2 separate regions of the Homo sapiens genome follow, and region 1 is linked to region 2. The links are contacts of gene promoters, found by promoter capture Hi-C in blood cells and fetal thymus (Javierre and others, 2016). All regions are on one chromosome and are shown on one strand. Each heading gives the region's core, a stretch centred on a gene start or on the middle of the fragment in contact. The rest is flanking DNA. Distances are from core to core; before and after follow the strand shown.

Region 1 (4,296 bases), core at 81-2,580, 530 kb after region 2:
TAAAGGCTGGTTGGGAGGTTTCATGTGTAATGCATGAAAAGGGCTTAGCATGATGTCCAGCATGTGCTTAATAATACAGGTTGAATATCTCTTGTGTGAAATACCTGGGACCAGAAATGTCTCAGATTTCAGATGTTTTCACTTTTTGGAATATTTGCACATACATACCTTGGGGTTGAAACTCAAGTCTAAACACAAAATTCATTTACGGTTTTTTGTTTGTTTCATTTACGGTTTTTTGTTTGTTTGTTTGCTTTTTTTTTTTTTTTTGAGACAGAGTCTCACTCTGTTGCAGTGCACTCTGGAGTGCAGTGGCGCAATCTCGGCTCACTACAACCTCCCCATCCTGGGTTCAAGCGATTCTTGTGCCTCAGCCTCTCAAGTAGCTGGGATTACAGGCATGTGCCACCACGCCTGGCGAATTTTTGCATTTTTAGTAGAGACGGAGTTTTGCCATGTTGGCCAGGCTGGTCTCAAACTCCTGACCTCAGGTGACCCACCCACCTCGGCCTCCTAAAGTGCTGGGATTATAGGCGTGAGCCACCACCCCTGGCCATTTATGTTTCATATACACCTTATGCACGCAGCCTGAAGGAAATTTTATACAATATTTTAAACAATTTTGTGCATGAAACAGAGTTTCGACTGTGTTTTGCCTGCCACCCCTTCACATGAGGTCAAATGAGAAATTTTGCACTTGTGATGTCACATCAGTTCTCAAAAACTAGTACATTTTGGAGCATTTCATATTTTGGATTTGGGGATTAGGGACACTCATTCTATATGTTATTGGATCCAGCATGTTGAACAAGCATGAGTCATGCCAGAAACCAAACCTTACTTCAGTGTGTTCCTATCATCCCCCTAAGCTCTCCCTAGTGGAGGTGGCCTTCTCATGAGCTGGGAAACTCTGGCAGGTCCCAAACCTTTTCCACTCATTCCTTGGAACAGATGAGTCATATTAGGTCACAAACAGTTTCAATTTAGTAGTTAGAATGTTAGAATGGGTTGGGTGTGGTGGTTCATGCCTATAATCCCATCACTTCAGGAGACTGAGGCTGGAGGATCTCTTGAGGCCAGGAGTTTGAGACCAAGCCTGGACAACACAGAAAGACCCTGTCTCTACAAAAAAAGAAAAAATTGGCCGGGCACGGTGGCTCATGCCTGTAATCCCGGCACTTTGGGAGGCTGAGGAGGGCAGATCACGAGGTCAGGAGTTCAAGACCAGCCTGACCAATATGGGGAAACCCATCTCTACTAAAAATACAAAAATTAGCCAGGCTTGGTGGCACGCGCCTGTAGTCCCAGCTCTCGGGAGGATGAGGCAGAAGAATCGCTTGAACCCGGGAAGCAGAGGTTGCAGTGAGCCAAGATCGCGCCACTGCACTCCAGACTGGGCGACAGAGTGAGACTTTGTCTCAAAAAAAAAAAAAAAAAACGAAAAGAAAAGAAAAGAAAAAATTAGCTGGGTGTGGTGGCGCATGCCTGCAGTCCTAGCTACTTGGGAGGCTGAGGAGGCAGCATCGCTTGAGCCCAGGAGATTGACGCTGTAGTGAGCTGCTAGTATCAGGCCACTGCACTACAGCCTGGGCAACAGAGTAAGACCCTGTCTCTCTCTCTCAAAAAAGAGAAGAATGTCAGAATCCCAAACATGACAGTGTTAAATCTCCCTCACTGTTTGGCTGGAAGACTGCAGCGGGGAAGGTAACACGGCCTTCTGGTCCTCCTCTTCCCTTACTCATGTGTCCCCCAAACTTGCCAGTTGTGGGTGCAGTCCCACCAGGTGCATCAGAAGCAGTGGGTAGGGAGAAGGAAGGGTCTAGCCCAGCTCCAACTTGGCGGCTGGCTTCATGCTGTCTCAGGGCAGGCAGATGGTTAGAGGAGGCTCTCTCTCACTTTGGTGAGCTCTTTAGAGATTTCTTTTTTCTTCTTCTTCTTCTTCTTTTTTTTTTTTTGAGACACAGTTTCATTCTGTTGCCCAGGCTGGAGTGCAATGGTGCAATCTTTGCTCACTGCAACCTCTGCCTCCCGCGTTTGAGTGATCCTCCTGCCTCAGCCTCCCAAGTAGCTGGGATTACAGGCACGTGCCACCACGCCTGGCTAATTCTGGTATTTTTGGTAGAGACCGGGTTTCACCATGTTGGTCAGGCTGGTCTCGAACTCCTGACCTCAGGTGATCCACCCGCCTCAGCCCCCCAAAGTGCTGGGATTACAGGCGTGAGCCACCGTGCCCAGCCTAGAGATTCTTTTCTGCAACCTTTTCTCCCCCACTTCCTTTGACTGCAAAGAATGCACCTATTCTGGGTGGTCTCTTGTGATGTCTTTAATCCCTGGGCAGGAGTTGATCCACTCCAGCCTCTATCTGCTGAGGTCTCCAGGTGGCTGCTCTCTCTCCCACTCAATCCTGAGTGTGGTCCTTGGGAAACACTCAGCGTCACCTCCTATCCCAGTGTCATAGCACGGGGTATGCCACCAAAGCAGGTCTTCACCCTTCTCTCCCCCTTGGGAGAGTCAGAGCCTAGCCCATGGCCGCCTTAGATACAGTCTAGGTACTCATCCTTTATGTTGCCCACCTAGCAGGGACATATCTTAAAACTCTCCTGGGGACCCCTGTGGTCTTCCTCATGAGGCATGAGGTTACAATCAGGGATGGCAAACTTTTTCTGGAAAGAGCCAGGCAGCAAATATTTTAGGCTTTATGGGCTTCAGCCTCTGTCACAAGCTTCCCACTGATACTTGAAAACAGCGAGAGGCCAGGCGTGGTGGCTCATGGCAGTAATGCCAGCACTTCAGGAGGACAAGGAGGGCGAATCACTTGGGACCAGCCTGGCCAACATGGCGAAACCCTGTCTCTACTAAAAATACAAAAATTAGCCAAGCATGGTGGCACATGGCTGTTATCCCAGCTATTCCAGAGGCTGAGGCACGAGAATCACCTGAGCCTGGAAGGTGGAGGTTGCAGTGAGCTGAGATCAAGCCACTGCACTCCAGTGTGGGTGACAGAGCGAGACCCTGTCTCAAAAAAAAAAAAAAAAAAAAAGGAAAGAAAAGAAAAAGAAAACAGCCAGAGACAATACTCAAACAAATTATCGTGGCAGTGTGCCAATTAAAATTTATTTGTGCAAATAGGCTATGACCAGATTTGGCTCACAGGACAAAAGCTTGCTGGCCTCTCACCCCAAATAGAGGGGGGTTAGAAGCCTGAAACGGTCAACTCCTTTCCCCCAAAACTCTCACTACCAATCTCCTTATCCCAAATTCTCTCTCTCTGCACCCTGATCATGTTTATTATCTCCAAGTAGGGAAGGATGAGGAATTGCTGAGAAACACTTTTTCAGACATTGCCCTTGAAAATCTCAATACATGGATTTGCCTATAGCTTTGGTAGCCAATGACAACTTGGCACCTCAGTTGGAAATGACGCAGGAAGAGTTTAAAATGTGCTGAGCTTGAGAAGGCTGCGGAGTCCAGATGTGGCATCCAGCTGAGAGCTGAAAGTTGTGCCTTGAAAGTCACAAGGATGAACTGGGCATAGCCCTTGTCCTCTGTTCTATCACACACCGCCTTGCCTTCTTAAACAGAGAATGTGGCGCATACTCTCCCATTCCTCATTCACTGGGGCCTGATGTGTATAGCAGCCTTGTTGTGACTTGCTGTAAAACCAGTGCCACCGGGGGTTATGGAGGTGCCTGGAACAAGTTCCTCCTAAACAAAATGGCCTGACAGTGTTGTCTTTGTGTGTTCTTTCGTCTGCTTCCTATAGATTGCTGTCTATAGATCGTGTGTGTTCTTGTGTATGTTCTTTGTGTGTTCTTGTGTCTGCTTCCTATAGATGGCTGTCTTCTTCACTGTCAACATGTCAGCTGTTACCTCTAGTTGCTGTCAGTTTCCCTATCTCTAGTAGCCTCCTTAACTATTTTTCTACTTTTCATATGCTGGGACTTTAAAACAAAAAGAAGAAGATTCAAGATGTTAGAATTGCACTAGATAACTATGCTAGGGAGTGAGTGCAGAGTGGCTGTCCCTCTAGCTGGTGGCATGAACGATCTTAATCCGTGGACAATGGGATATCTACTGTGGCTGCTATGGACTTATTCATTTATTCATGTACTCATCATTCATTGATTTAGTTTTTTTGCTTGAATGCAGGGGCTCAGCCAGGGTGCTGACATAATGCAAAAAACTACCTGTATTTAGGATGGGATCAGGATTATTTTAAACATTTTTCAAATTTATTTAGATATTCACATAAGTACACAATTGGACATAAATGCATAAACGTGATCGCCATATTTT
Region 2 (4,235 bases), core at 567-3,066:
GCCTTGTATTCCTTCTTTCCTGGGGCATCCTATCATAGAATTTAAGTATTGACAATAGGAACCCAAAGTCTGAGACAAGATGATCCTTTGAATCCCCAAGTAACTAGCCACTTACTTAAAGAACTCATGTGGATTGTATCAATGTTGTACCAGAGATATTATGCTTGAAAACAACAGTCCAGGAAGGTCAGGCTTGGCTCTACAAAAGTAGAAGGGGCAAAGTATGGTGAGGCATGCCTGTAGTTCCAGCTACTTGGGAGGCTGAGGCAGGAGGATCGCTTGAGGCCAGGAGTTCGAGACCAGCCTGGGCAACATACTGAAACATCATCTCTGAAAAAATAAAGAAAAGAAAAAAAAAAGCAGAAGGAAGGAAGGGAATTCTATGGGTAAAAAAAAAAAGCCTAAATTATCTAAAGCATTTTCTTCCAGTAAGAAGGTGATTAACATGAGCATGGTGTGCCAGGGTTTACAAAGTATTTTCATGAATATTAGAAAACTCGATCCTCATGAACAACTTGGTGTAGTACTGAAGAAACAGACTCCATTTACTCCATGAAGAATTAGACTCAGGGAAGGCAAACAGCCTTTTCCACAGTTCCCTACACTGTTACTACCTTGTGGAGGGAGGGGTAAGTTAACCAGGACCACTGACTCCAAAGCTTTTGCTTTTTGCTAGTGGCTGTAAGCACTAAAATTGGAAGTACATTTACATAAATAGTTTATGCAACCAAGCAAAATAGGCAGTGACTTGGGGGACACCCAGAGCGTAGTAGGAACAGAGTAGGTCCTTGCAGGTAGCTTTCTTCCCAGGTATACCACCAGACTGTCTGTGGTGCAGCTGGCTGGTTCCCCGCCAGCTTTCCCTCCTGACCTACGGTGTTTTAGGCAGAGGCTGGCTTTCTGGGGCAGCTGAGGAAATCTGTCCTTATCATCAACAAGGGATGCTTCTTCCTTGCAAGGACGAATTGTTCCTTGATCCAAGCAGCAGGGACACTTCCAGGCTTTCCAGGGGCACTGCTGCTTCCTCAACTTTTTCCTTGCAGTGACAGCCTGAGTGATCCGGGGCCCTTCCCAGGGTCTCATTCCAGGGATAGCAGTGCGCAAAAGGACCCTGTGATGAGGGACTCCTCTATCCCCTTCCTTCTCCACTTCATGGAAAGGAGGTCCCCAGGAGCCGACAAAATAGAGCAGTGGTCATCAAAAGTGGAGCTGCTTATATACAACTATAATTAGTCCACTTACAAAAAAGAAGAAAAAGGGTGGTGGTCTGGCACAGTGGCTTACGCTTGCGATCCTGGCATTTTGGGAGGCCGAGTAGGGAAGATCGCTTAAGGCTAGGAGTTCGAGACCGGCAACATAGAAAAACTCCCCCCCCCACCCCCCAAAAAAGGTTGGGCTGCCAATACTGACAGCGTGGGCACGCCTAGGAGCTTGTTAGAAATGCAGATTCTCGGGCTAACCTGCTACCTGCTGAACCAGAGTCTGCGAAGATGGAACCTGGCGATCTGCTTAAGAAGCTCGCCAGGCGGTTCTTAGACACTCAAGCTTGCAACCCGTAACTTTCTCAGTGACGCTGCCCCTCCCACGGAAAGGGGTGAATAATCCTTAGGAAGACAAGCAAACAGGTCTGCATCATCAATTTCTTCAGGCTGGAAAACCTGACGCAGGCGCAGTGACTATCACGCTTGGCCAAGGCCGCACGGCGCGCATGCGCACTAGAGGCCGCCCGCCGTCCCGCCCCCTTCAGGCTTTTGCCCCTTCTCGGCCTCCGCCACCGCTCCCCGCCCCGCGCATGAGCAGCGGCGGTTTTTTTTCCCATGGCGCTCTGGGGCGCGGGCGATTTGTAGGTAATGGCAGGCGTTCGGTCACTGAGGTGTAGCAGAGGATGCGCTGGCGGCTGTGAGTGCGGCGACAAGGGCAAATGCAGCGACTCCTCGCTGTTGGGCAAGAGACTCTCCGAAGACTCGAGCCGCCACCAGCTGTTGCAGAAGTGGGCGAGCATGTGGAGCTCCATGAGCGAAGACGCGTCGGTGGCCGACATGGAGAGGGCGCAGCTGGAGGAGGAGGCGGCGGCTGCGGAGGAGAGGCCGCTGGTGTTCCTGTGCTCCGGCTGCCGGCGGCCGCTGGGCGACTCGCTGAGCTGGGTGGCCAGCCAGGAGGACACCAACTGCATCCTGCTTCGCTGTCAGTTGGGTCGAGCCGGGCAGGGGGGGCGTGGGGTCGCCTTCTTCCAGGGGTGCCGCGCGTGGGCGGCCCGGGAGGAGGCGGGGGCTCCTTGGGGCTGCCCAGGGACTTTAAGAGCAAAAAGTCTGAGAGTGTGAGCTGTGGCAGGAAAAGGGGAGGAGGGTCACCCCTCCACTTTGGCTCTCGGGCGGTGGGTTCTTTTCTGGGGTCCCCGATCCCAGAAGAGCAGTGGTTGAATCAGCATCATCGTGAGCATTACTCAGAAACAAAGGGCGACAAAGAATAACACTTTTAAAGACCCTAAAAAAAGAGAAACAAATGGTCAACTAGACTGTAAGCACTTGAGGTGCAGCCAGTACTATTACTCCCCATAGAAATTAGCAGGCTGTTGGTGTATCAGCGGATGCCTCTACAGCCTCCAGTGATAGAGCCGCAGAGTTGACGGAACACAGTGCTATAGGGAAGAAAGGGAAGGAAACTTGCAATAAAAGCACCAACAACCCCATGAAAACTGGCGAGGAAGGAGGATGTAGCAAAAGAGTTCAGAAGAAGGCAGGAATTAGTTTCTAATCCTGGTTCTAGCAGTTACCTCTTACCTCTGTTGTTCCACTGTTCCCTCATTTTGATGTTTTTGCAGTATTTAGGGATAAAGTGGTTCACATATTTTTTATGAATTGGTGTAAGAATGGCTGTTGTTTTTGGATTGTGATTTTTCAAGATGAAGTTTTTTCTGTCTTTGAATGCCGTAAATGTTCCGATGGCAGTAATTCACCACCGGCTTATCGACGTTTCTGGAACGTTTTCCTTGGTGTAATACTGGGAATAAAGGAGCACACCAGTGTCCAGTAGTTAACTGAAAGTTGAGATTAACTCTTTGCACCTATCAAAATCAAACCAGGCCGAGCGCGGTGCCTCAGGCCTGTAATCCCAGCACTTTGGGAGGCCGAAGTGGGCGGATCACGAGATCCGGAGATTGAGACCATCCTTGCCAACATGGTGAATGAAACCCCATCTCTACTAAAAATACAAAAATTCCAGATCAGCCTCGCCAAAATAAAAAATTAGCCGGGCATGGTGGTGTGCGCCTGTAATCCTAGCCACTCCGGAGGCTGAGGCAGGAGAATCACTTGAACCCGGGAGGCGGAGGTTGCAGTGGGCCGAGATTGCGCCACTGCACTCCAGCCTGGAGACAGAGCGAGACAACGTCTCAAAAAAGAAAAAAAAGAAAAAAGCAGATTTTTGGTTAGGTAGGAAAAGCTCTTTGTTTGAATGAGATTCCCTTGTTTACATGTTTTTAAGGAATAACGTGTTTGATGTTACATCTTTCATTTTATTTGTTTGTTTCGATAGAGTGTATTTTTTGCCATGTGGGCTCTTTTCGTTGTTTTGCGTTACTTATAGAAAGACTGTTTTTGTTATTTAATTTTTATAACAATAGCTTTTAAATTTAAAACATAGTTCTAAAATAGTAGTTTAAAATTTAAAGAACTATACATTTTTTGATTTATCAGATTTAGATAATAGGATTTAACACCTCCCCACACCCCCCAGTAAAGACAAATAAATGAACTCGGATTCATTTCCATTCCTTCCTTACCCAATTTGAATTAGTTTAATTATTTTCATTTTGTCAAGGTTTATACATTTACATTCTGTACATTTACATTCTGTTCTGTAGCTATAACAGCCTAACTATGATTTTTTAAAATAGGATTATTTATTTAATAGGTTTTTTTTTAATAGGGTTATAGTGGGTTAACAGCCCTCTGTTGCCCAGGTTGGAGTACAGTGGCGCAATCATAGCTCACTGTATGTAACCTTGAACGCCTGCTCAAACTATCCTCCCGGCTCAGCTTCCCAAGTAGCTTGGGACTACAGATACACACTAACACCTGGCTAATCTTTAAATTTTTTGTAGAGACAGAGTCTTGCTATGTTGCTCAGGCTGATCTCAAACTCCTGGCCCCAAGCAATCCCCTGCTTCGGCCTCCTAAAGTGCTGGGAGTACAGATGTGAGTTACAGCACCCAATCCTATAAAGTTTATATAAAT

Evidence for each region. Contacts are between HindIII fragments. The CHiCAGO score rates a contact against its expected background, and 5 or more counts as called.
Region 1: a contact is called between a fragment that was not itself captured here and the fragment with the promoter of MIS18A in region 2, in 1 of 17 cell types (M1 macrophages). The highest score is 6.1, in M1 macrophages.

The regions. Positions count from the first base shown.
Region 1 is chr21:31,747,632-31,751,927 of GRCh38, reverse strand. No RefSeq gene overlaps it. Among named protein-coding and RNA genes, the nearest start is that of SCAF4, 18 kb to the right of the region's middle. The HindIII fragment of the contact is 2,788 bases long and covers 1-2,724 here.
Region 2 is chr21:32,276,630-32,280,864 of GRCh38, reverse strand. MIS18A (MIS18 kinetochore protein A) reads left to right here and starts at 1,816. Exons shown (of 5, transcript NM_018944.3): 1 at 1,816-2,184. The coding sequence starts at 1,851. MIS18A-AS1 (MIS18A antisense RNA 1) reads right to left here and starts at 1,660. Exons shown (of 1, transcript NR_046576.1): 1 at 1-1,660. RefSeq lists enhancers at 1,403-1,622, 1,566-2,065, 2,066-2,567. The HindIII fragment of the contact is 2,727 bases long and covers 1,548-4,235 here.